Regions from separate parts of the Homo sapiens genome. Here regions 1 and 2 are each linked to region 3. Evidence: promoter capture Hi-C in 16 types of primary human blood cells and fetal thymus (Javierre and others, 2016). All regions are on one chromosome and are shown on one strand. Each heading gives the region's core, a stretch centred on a gene start or on the middle of the fragment in contact. The rest is flanking DNA. Distances are from core to core; before and after follow the strand shown. Region 1 overlaps LOC101928004 (a long non-coding RNA gene). Region 2 holds the start of EEF1E1 (eukaryotic translation elongation factor 1 epsilon 1). Region 3 holds the start of SNRNP48 (small nuclear ribonucleoprotein U11/U12 subunit 48).

Region 1 (3,169 bases), core at 628-3,127, 810 kb after region 3:
CTGCTTTCTGCAAGACAACTTCAGTATCTGAGAGTTTTTTCCTCCCGTAGTAAAAACAAAGTCATTTCCATCTTTGTGTTTACCACAGCTGGTGGCAAAGACTCTCCTTGGCCAAGGCTTAGTCAGGCTCCTCTGAGCTCTCTTATCGACTAGGCTTCGGCCTTGGTCTTAGTCGTTGCCGAGCCTGCACTGCCCAGTCTTGGCAAGAATCCTGTTAAGTCAGTTTAGCAAGAATCCCTCACCCTTGATTTATGATCACCCTTAATATCTGATCAAGTTCTTTATGTACCACATTTTCTTTTCTCACTGCACTTTCACACTTTCATTTCTAACATCCCTCACTTTTGATGTATATATCCTTGGCCTGCCTTTAGCAAGAATTCTGTTAGGTCAGTTTTGCAAGAATCTCTGTACCCTTGATGTGTCCTCTTGGTAATTTTTCATCCAATCATCCCCATCTTGTTCCTTGGCCCCAGCAGTCTTTGTTGTATTTGGAGTTGAGCCCAATCTCTCTCCCTTATTGCACTGTCCCTATTGCAATAGTCCTTTAAAAAAACAATTTTTTTTTTGGCAGAGAGAGGGTCTCCCTATGTTGCCCAGGCTAGTCTCAGACTCCTGGCCTACTAGGTGATCCTCCTGCCTCGGCCCTCCAAAGTGCTGGGATTATAGGTGTGAGCCACCACATCCTGCAGTAATCTTGGATAAAGTCTTCCCTACCCTTATAACAAGTGTCAAAATAATATTATCACTGGCATTTGGGAAACAGTGCAGAAGCAGTGCAAGCAGGGACTGCGTGAGAATGGGAAAGCTAGCCTTTGCCTCAAGAACACTCTGCTTGACTTCATTAGACAGCTGCACAGGAGGTAATTTTCTAGGGCATGGTTTTTCAAACTGTGAGCTGCAACTATTTACTAAGTCACATCAACATTTTAAAATGAAATAGAATAGAGTTAGAAAATACCATCCTGTATTGCCTGTAATTAAGGGAAGTATTGACTCATAAAACTTTTGTTTCAGCTTATGTGTCTGTGCACCCGGTCAAGGTGTAAAGATGTATATATATATATATATATACTTTTTACCATGTAAACTGGTAAAATAAAATAAAATGATAAAATAAAATTATAGAAGCCACTGATCTAGGAAGTAGTTTTGGACCTTTTGCTTTCCCCCCCGCCCCCACCCCCAAGAATAGCTATACCAGTCAGGCTGATACTATTATCTCTATTTTAGAGGGGATGGATTTGGTTAGGTAAAATCTCACCACTGAGTGCTAACATGTCAATTTCTTAGTCTCTATTTTACCATAACCGTGTTAGCTTTTCCTTTGTTTAAAGCATTTTCTTAACTTTATCTTGCTTAAGAAAGCCAGGACATGTAAGATTCAAGCTTCATTTCCAAAGTGAATGAACAGATAAATGCTTGTCAGTATTAGACTAACAAAGAGATCAAAAGCAATAGGCAAAACAATCCACACATGCCTAGATGGGGTAAAATGAAGACTTTGTGAATCATTTCCTTTTTAAGTTATTAGTTCTTGGGAACCTAAGGAAGGAGTATGGGATTCTTACCTCATGGTGGGTGGTAGGAATTGTGTGAAGCATTAGTGGCAAGATTGCATGCTTAGACTCACAGTATAAGTAAAACTCATTCTATAGACAATTCTACAAAAGAATGAGAAGAATGCCATAGACCGTGGAAGGCTCATGCGATGAGCATGTCAGCCCACTTCTGCTCTGCCTTTCCTTTAAACTGGTCCACACCCCAGACCCTTCACCATTTTGGTTTTTGTAGGAAGAGAACTCAACCACCAAATACCCTGTAGGCTTGGGAGGGCATACACATGAGAAGCAGGTTCCCCTAGGCTCAGGTGAGCCCCACCTTCAAGGTGGAAAACCTTGGGGACCTTCTGGAAATGCAGAGGCAGATAGGGCTTCATGCTTGGTGAAGAGATGAGCATTCACAACTAGCTTGGTTCTCTACCAATGGTCAAAATGGTTGATTTTGCTACTGAATGAGAGACATCAATTTTCTTGAGATTCAACTATCTTTTGTGCCACTTCTGTGTAATGCCAACTAGTCATTTGGTGAGTTTATTTAGATAAAGAATCAGATTTTGAAGCAAACTTGTTTCCTCTGTGACCAAAAAAAGGGCATTTTAAGCCTGCAAATAAAACTTAAAATGCTTTATTTCTATAAATAAATAAATAAACTGAGCAAATAAAAAAATACAACACATGGAACATAAAAACTCCAGTAACAATTGGACCAGGTCACCCTTAGTGTAAATGTCAACATTCTTTTTCAAATTGTTATTTAATTATTTGTTATTCTATATTTTATTTATTTGACAGCCAAAGCTTCCCTCCCAGAGGAGGATGTTCCTTTGCCTTTGTCCAGAGCCCTTCAGGAGAAGCAGAGGAATTGCTCAGAGATGAGCTGGGATTGCTTGGGGGGCACAAGGAGATAGCGATGCCCATCATCATTGTAATAGTTAGGATTGGCTCTCAGGCATGGTGCCGAACACTTTACCTGGATTCTTTAATTTAATTCACCCGACATGAGATAGGTGTACTGACTGTCCCCATTTTGCCAATGAAAAAACTGAGGTAGAGTGAGGTTAAACCACTTGCCTAGTTCAGTGTCAGGACTGACTCTCGGCAGCCTGACCCCAGGGCCTTGACACTGACCAAGGTTGCAGTGTTGTCTGCTCCTGGAAGTTCTCACTGACCAGTTTGCAAAGTGGGATTGCTTTTTCTTTTTCTCCTTCCTTCCTTCCTTCCTTTCTTTCTTTTTTTGAGATGGAGTTTCGCTCTTGTTGCCCAGGCTGGAGTGCAATGTCGTGATCTCAGCTCACTGCAACCTCTGCCTCCCAGGTTCAAGTGATTCTCCTGCCTCACCCTCCCTAGTAGCCGGGATTACAGGCATGTGCCACCATGCCTGGCTAATTTTGTACTTTTAGTAGAGACAGGGTTTCTCCATGTTGGTCAGGCTGATCTTGAACTCCCAACCTGGCTAATTTTTGTACTTTTGTAGAGACAGGGTTTCACCATGTTGGCCAGGCTGGTCTTGAACTCCGGACCTCAAGATGCAAGAGATGACACAGGTTTGGTGTTTTGTTTGTTTAATGACAAAAGAGAAGAGCAAAAGAGAATATGGTTGAAAGGAC
Region 2 (3,341 bases), core at 226-2,725, 510 kb before region 3:
CATGAATTTTGTCCTTAAAGCATATCTTACTAAGAGTATACAATTAAATGACTGTGCTATAAAGTCACTTAAAAGAGGTCCACACTGGGTGATGATGTCATCAATTTGATGTACAATATGCTTTGTTCTGCTTTCAGTTTTTTAGGGATTTCTTTTTTAATTTGATATTTCTATAATTATGCAAAGGCCAAACCTTATTTTCAATATACCACCCATTGGCATTGGATAAATGTTAATTTTTTTAAAAAATGTTTTATTACAAGCAAAAAGTGTACCTAAACCCTGAAAATGGATATGTGAATTATCTTAGAGGGTTGGTCTTTTAAAAAGTAGTAGAATAGTCATTCCATTATCTGAATATGGAAAGTAAAACAGATAATTTAGTGCCTAACAATCCACTTATACTGAAATTTCTTTTGTATTTTGTTATGTTGATTTGGCAAAAGTTTCTTTTCCTTATGTTTACTTCTGCTGACAGAGTAAACTCATTAAGTATTCTGGGATAGGGAAGGTGTAACACAGTAACAACATTCCCCACTAAACTTTGATATTTCTGATTCAATGATGAGTTACCTTGTAGGATTGTTCTATTTCTCTCAGACTAATACACACTTTGTTTATTCATTCTTCAAAGTGGAAAATATTTTGTATTTTCACAAATCTTTTGGAAATATTCAACATATACTACTAATTTTCTTTCTTTCTTCCTTTCTTTCTTTTTTGAAGATACAAGAATGTAGCAAGTTAGTGGGGCAAAGTTATGCACCTTGTTTATTTATATACCAAAACTTCATAAATTATGTAACCAGCCTTCTGGTACTGCAAAAAAAGATCATTAATGCCATTAATGGCTTATTTCCTTGAGCTGTAATTATTTGACCCCTATCTGACATACTCCGTGTTCTGTGAATAATCTTTAAATGTATAATTCTACTGCTAGTGTTGAGCTGTAGATCAACAGTAGAAAAACCAGTTTTTCGAATTCACCACTACAACACAATTAAAATCCTCATGAATTATGCTACACGTTAGAAACTCCTAATGGACTGTGAACTTTTTGCTATTCAATTTGATTGTTCAAATTTACAGATTCCTGAACCAAACTAAGGCAAATTTCAGTTCCCATCATATATAAATTCTCTTAGACTAGCAAATGAGTTAACGAGTTACCGCTGGCAGCCATGTCAATAGATTGCCATTTAGAGATCCAGATCCAGTCTACTGCAGCCACCGAAGCCCGGCCTTGGGGCCTTTCTACCAGTAACTAGCTCCCCAACAGTTCGAGTGGAAATTTACCATCACTTCTCCACCTGTCTCACACCCCGCCCTCAGCCCCGCCCCTTCCACCGGCCCCGCCTCCTGTGCTTTGGCGCGCGCTCTCCACGCCCCTTCCGTTCAGCCAATCGCCGCTGAAGTTTGCAGGAGTGGGACTTCTGTTTCCACCAATGCGGGAGGTTCTTGTTCTGCAGGTCTCGCGTCTGCCAGGAGCTACGGCCGGAAGATGGCGGCGGCCGCAGAGTTGTCGCTACTGGAGAAGTCCCTGGGACTGAGTAAGGGGAATAAATACAGTGCTCAGGGCGAGCGACAGGTGAGAAGGAGAGGCGGCGCGGAGGGGAAGAGGTGGACGGGAGCGGGGCCTGCCGAGCCCTGGCAGGACCCGGGCCGGCCACCAGATACGGGCGGAGTGAGGATGCTGCTACCCAGCTCCCCACGTGTCTGCGCCGCTAGCCGGCTGGCGCCTCTGGGCCTCGGCCCCTGCCATCCTACCTCCTGGAGGGAGGGGTTAACCAGCTCAGGTTGGGCTTGGCCTGAACTTCACCTCCTGGGAAATTGTCATCATCCCATTATGAGGAAACAAAACCAGTTGGAGGAGGGTCCTCACAGGGCTCTTAGACCAACCTGGAATGTATTCAGTAACTGGCTTTTTTTTTTTTCCCGTAATCGCACCTTTCATTCAGTTATTGCGCAGCGACTCCGTTATAGCTAACAGGGTGCCAGGTAGCACCGTGCTGGGTCTGGGGAATACAATGATGATTTAGGGGAACATGCTTCCTCCTCTCAGGCAGCTTGCTTTTTGGCCAGGTGGACAAACATTGCAACCATTTAAATTGGAAGAGTGCCACGTTGCACCATAAATGGCAGAGAGAACACCTAAGGAGTCTTGGCCCAATCTAGGGGATTCGGGGAAGGCGTTTCTAAAGCCTTGGATTATCAGTTTAAGTGTTACGACCCACAGTGAATGCGGGAAACATCACAAGGTATGAGATTGCCTGGTTAGGCACTGTTAGAACGTTTGTGTTTTATAGTTGTTTGTCGTAGAAGGAATGTATTAGAGAAGGAAATTGGTTGTAGGAAGACTACTTTGGATATATGTTTTTTTTGCTCCTTTGAGATTTTTTCCAAATGATGTTTGGTTTTTGTCTTTAATTTTTTCTCTTCTTCATTTGGTCCATGTGAAGATCTTGTCTAGAAAGTAGTAGTATAGTTTTTATTTAAGTTAACCTGAAGCCTAGAAAGGTTAAGTGTTCAGCCTAAGATCAGCCCTGTGATTGGTGGCAGAGTAGGCGTTGGAGCCAAAGTGGCCTTCTTTTGGTGTTTCCTCTGCCCCAGTGATAATTCCGTCCCTTCGGCCCCTACTCCCTAGCTTAGTGTATATATTATATAATATATATGTAGTATAAATATAATATATATGGCCGAGTGGACAAACATTGCAACCGTTTAAATTGGAAGAGTGCCATATATATATATATATATATATATATATATATATATATATTTTTTTTTTTTTTTTTTTGAGACAAAGTCTCACTGTGTCGCCCAGGCTGTAGTGCCATGGCATGATCTCGGATCACTGCAACCTCTGCCTCCCGGGTTCAAGCGATTCTTCTGCTTCAGCCTCCCAAGTAGCTGGGGTTACAGGTGTTCGCCACCACGCTCAGCTAATTTTTGTATTTTTAGTAGAGACCGGGTTGCACCATGTTGGCCAGGCTGGTCTTGAACTGGTGACCTCAGGTGATCCACATGCCCTGGCCTCCTAAAGTGCTGGGATTACAGGCGTGAACCACTGTGCCTGGCCTAGTTTATATTTTTTAGGGACCATTGCCAAGATATGAGTATTATCTAGTATGAGAAACAATCATCAGCAAATAATTTAAAGCACAACATAGTAAGCACTTCATGGACTGTCGTGGGTGAGCAGCAACTCTCTGGGGCTGGTGGCGCCAGGGTAAGAATTTACCAGGACAGCTGTACGTAAAGAAAAGCAGATTTATTAGAGAAAGTATGAAAATATGTTGCAAGAGTGCAACAGGCAAGTTAGTAAGAGAGGAGCTAACTGC
Region 3 (3,306 bases), core at 418-2,917:
ACTAAATTTCAGTACTAAAACACCGGCGGAAATCCTAACTGCCATTTACTAGCAGTGTATCCTTCGACAAATTATCACTTCTGTGTTCCTTTCCTCGTCTATAAAATGTGGCCAAAGATACCTACCTCATAGGGTTATTTTGAGTATTAAATGAAGTAATGTAAGTGGCAAACAAAGTGCTATTTAAACGTTAATACAAGGAATCCAATGTTACCGCAATGCTGAGTAAACAATGTATGGAAGGGTCTGGTAAGCCCCACTCAGTGGAATTCCCAGCTTCAAATACCCCTCTAAATGAATATTAAAGATTTTTTAATTTCCTCTGTGCTTTTAATACAATAAACAATGAATGGTATATACAGAAATCAAATATATTTTAAATGCCTCTGAGGAATCAGTCATGTAACTTAAACCCAGGAGAAATTATCACAGCATGGTAAACCCAGAAGTAATAGTAAAGATAATGAATTACCCCACATTGGAGCACTTCCCTTCCTCTCATTCCACCGAAAATACCCCACAAAAAAACAAAAATCACGAATGTTCACTCTAAATACACTTGCCTACATTTTTAAAAAAGCAATTCTAATGTCCACAGGAGTTGCCAGTTACCACCTCTTGGTGACAACCTTTAATAATCCTAGAATTGGTGCTGTCCCAGTCAGAAGTGTCCAATTTTAAGGCACAGAAAGGCGAACTGGCAAACTCCCAGCTCTCCTGACACCGAATCTGGTGCAACTGCGGAATCCGTATGACAGATGACAATGCAAACCGCCAATCCCTCTGCAGCGCTCTGAGACACGTTCACTTATTTTCTAAATAAATACCAAATCTGCCATTCCCTCCTCACTCAACACACCTTCCTGGATTTTGTTTGTTTGTTTTTTGAGACAGGGTCTTGCTCTGTCGCCCAGGCTGGAATGCAGTGGAGCGATCTCGGCTCACTGCAGCCTCGACCTCCTGGGCTCAAGCTATCCTTCCACCCCAGCCTCCCAAATAGCTGGGGCCACAGGCTCACACCACCACACCCGGCTAATTTTTGTACTTTTGGTAGAGAAGAGGTTTCACCATGTTGCCCAGGCTAGTCTGGAACTCCTGGGCTCAAGGGATCCTCCCGCCTTGGCCTCTCAAAGTGCTAGGATTACAGGCGTGCGCCACCGCGCCCGGCCCCCGGTTTTCTTTAAACTCGAAGTTGCGCGGGAGGAGCGCCGCACTGGAGGTCGATGTGGAGCCTTCGGGAGTTCCTCGCGCGCCCCAGCCCGGAACCCAGGGACGTCAGGGTTGCTCCAGGGCCCCCGGCGCCCCTCGGGTCCCAGGCGCCCATCGCGGCTCTGCACACGGACGAGGACTCCTCGCCCTTCCCTCCGCGGCTGCCAGTGCGGATCTCCCTTCTTCCAGAGAAGACCCCGGGCCGATAGTCCCCGAAAGGGCCCCGCGGCCGCGCTCCTCACCTCCGCCGCCTCCTCTTCCCCGGGATCCAGACTATCTAGGTCCCAGCCCAGGGACGCGGTCACCTCCTCCAACGTCCGGCAGCCGCTCTCCACGAACTCGTTCAGCTCCTCCTGCAGCCGCCGCCGCTCCTCCACAGGTGGAGGCTCGCCCTCCATAGCTGCAGCCCACCCGCCAAGAGGAAGCGGCCGAACTGCAGACCGCACGCGCAGGCCTCTGGGAGCTGTGGGCGGGGCCACAGTCGCCACGTGACTTGAACAGCCTATAGGGAAGAGTCCCGGGAAGGGCGGGACTGTTATTTTGAGAGGCGTTTTCCAATCTTTTCTCAGCTCTTGCGTGCATTTGCTCTGGCCTTTCCAGAAAGATATTCGCCCTCCTCGACTTCCTCAGAAAAAACGGCTTATAGCTACAGAAAAGTTTTAAAAATAGTACAATGAGCTTTCGTTTAGCCGTCCTTCAGCTCATTGTTAACATTTTGCCAGGTTTGATTTCTCTCCGTCTCTTCTCTCCACATTCACAGCCCCACCCAATGATTTTTGCTGAATTCTTTGAAAGTAAGTTGCAGATTTTTCACCCCCAAATATGTTAGCATGCATGTTCTAAGAATAAGAACATTTTCCTGTGTAACCGCAATACATGATCAAACCTAAGAAAATTAGTAAGTCCATAAAATCATTTATTATACAGTTCATATTCAAATTTCCCCATTGTCCCCAAAATTATTTCTATAGCAGTTTTATTTTTTCAACTCATAAGCTATAATTAGTTATTGTCTCTTTTAATCCAGATCAGCCTCCTTCACCCTCCTTTTTAAATTATTAAATCATTACATGTTGTGATGAGCCTAGGCCAGTTGTCTTGTAGAATCTCTCTCATTCTGGATTTGTCAGATTTTGTTTCCCTCATGATTAGATTCAGTTTGAGCACTTTTGCAATACTACCTAAGAGATGTTGCCAACTCACGGGGACGCATAACTCAGTTATATTAGTAATGCTAAATTTGATCACTTGGTAAAGGTGGTGGCTACATCTCTTCATTCTAATAGTACATTTTCCTCTTAGGAATTGGTAAGCAATCTGTGGATTATACCTTGAGTCCATAAGAATAACCTGTTCCCCAACTCCTTGATACAGTCCTTCACTGAATCTGTTGTTACATTAGGAGTTATAAGTGATTCCGCAATAGTATCATGCCTTTTATGTTTATTAACTGGCATTCTTTCCACACCTCCATTTTAGTGTTTGCTTCACTATGGGAATCAAGGTGTTTTTAAAGTTATTGATTTAAGGTTTTTTTTTAATTCAATATAATATACTCCTTTAACATCATAATTCTTGTTGATGCTCAAATTGTCCCAAATGTGGCCAGTGGAAGCCACATTAAGCCATCTGTGTCTTTCATGTATCCCTATTAGTCCTTGAATGCTTTCTTGCTTTGATAACACAAGCTTAACTTTGTACATTTCCTACCCAACACCTGGAATTAGCCCTTGTAGTTTCCCCAAATGGTTTCAACTCCTAGAATCTAACCCATTTTATATTACTTTTTAAAATTTTTTCAAGCCCAAGTGTCAAACCTTGGTTTCCTTTTGCACTTTGTTTACCCATGTGAAGGAACTGTGGGGGAATTTTTTGGTGAACAATTATTTCTAAAGGCAAATAGCACGGTTCTCACTTAAAAAAATAGTCATAAGACTATAAATAGGCAGCACCATAAAATACAGAAGTGGCTAGAAGCTGGTAAGAGAGGAGTATGAAGTTAATGTATTCATACTCTGCCTACAGTATCTTTTTTTTTTTTTTTTTGAGACGGAGTCTGGCTCTGCCACCCAGGCTGGAGTGCAGTGGCGCAATCTC

What was found. Contacts are between HindIII fragments. The CHiCAGO score rates a contact against its expected background, and 5 or more counts as called.
Region 1: a fragment that was not itself captured here is called in contact with the fragment with the promoter of SNRNP48 in region 3 in 1 of 17 cell types (total B cells); the score reaches 5.3 in total B cells.
Region 2: a contact is called between the fragment with the promoter of EEF1E1 here and the fragment with the promoter of SNRNP48 in region 3, in 5 of 17 cell types (neutrophils, total CD4 T cells, activated CD4 T cells and 2 more). The highest score is 6.5, in neutrophils.

Annotation. Positions count from the first base shown.
Region 1 is chr6:6,782,327-6,785,495 of GRCh38, reverse strand. The region is part of intron 2 of LOC101928004 (a long non-coding RNA gene); the gene reads left to right. Among named protein-coding and RNA genes, the nearest start is that of LINC03055, 100 kb to the left of the region's middle. The HindIII fragment of the contact is 971 bases long and covers 1,392-2,362 here.
Region 2 is chr6:8,100,682-8,104,022 of GRCh38, reverse strand. It overlaps EEF1E1 (eukaryotic translation elongation factor 1 epsilon 1), which reads left to right and starts at 1,475. Exons shown (of 4, transcript NM_004280.5): 1 at 1,475-1,588. The coding sequence starts at 1,502. It overlaps EEF1E1-BLOC1S5 (EEF1E1-BLOC1S5 readthrough (NMD candidate)), which reads left to right and starts at 1,428. Exons shown (of 7, transcript NR_037618.1): 1 at 1,428-1,588. RefSeq lists silencers at 1,223-1,422, 1,563-1,682, 1,891-2,076. The HindIII fragment of the contact is 8,997 bases long and covers 1-3,341 here.
Region 3 is chr6:7,588,559-7,591,864 of GRCh38, reverse strand. SNRNP48 (small nuclear ribonucleoprotein U11/U12 subunit 48) reads right to left here and starts at 1,667. Exons shown (of 9, transcript NM_152551.4): 1 at 1,452-1,667. The coding sequence starts at 1,607. RefSeq lists enhancers at 1,443-1,592, 1,171-1,910. The HindIII fragment of the contact is 5,411 bases long and covers 1-2,899 here.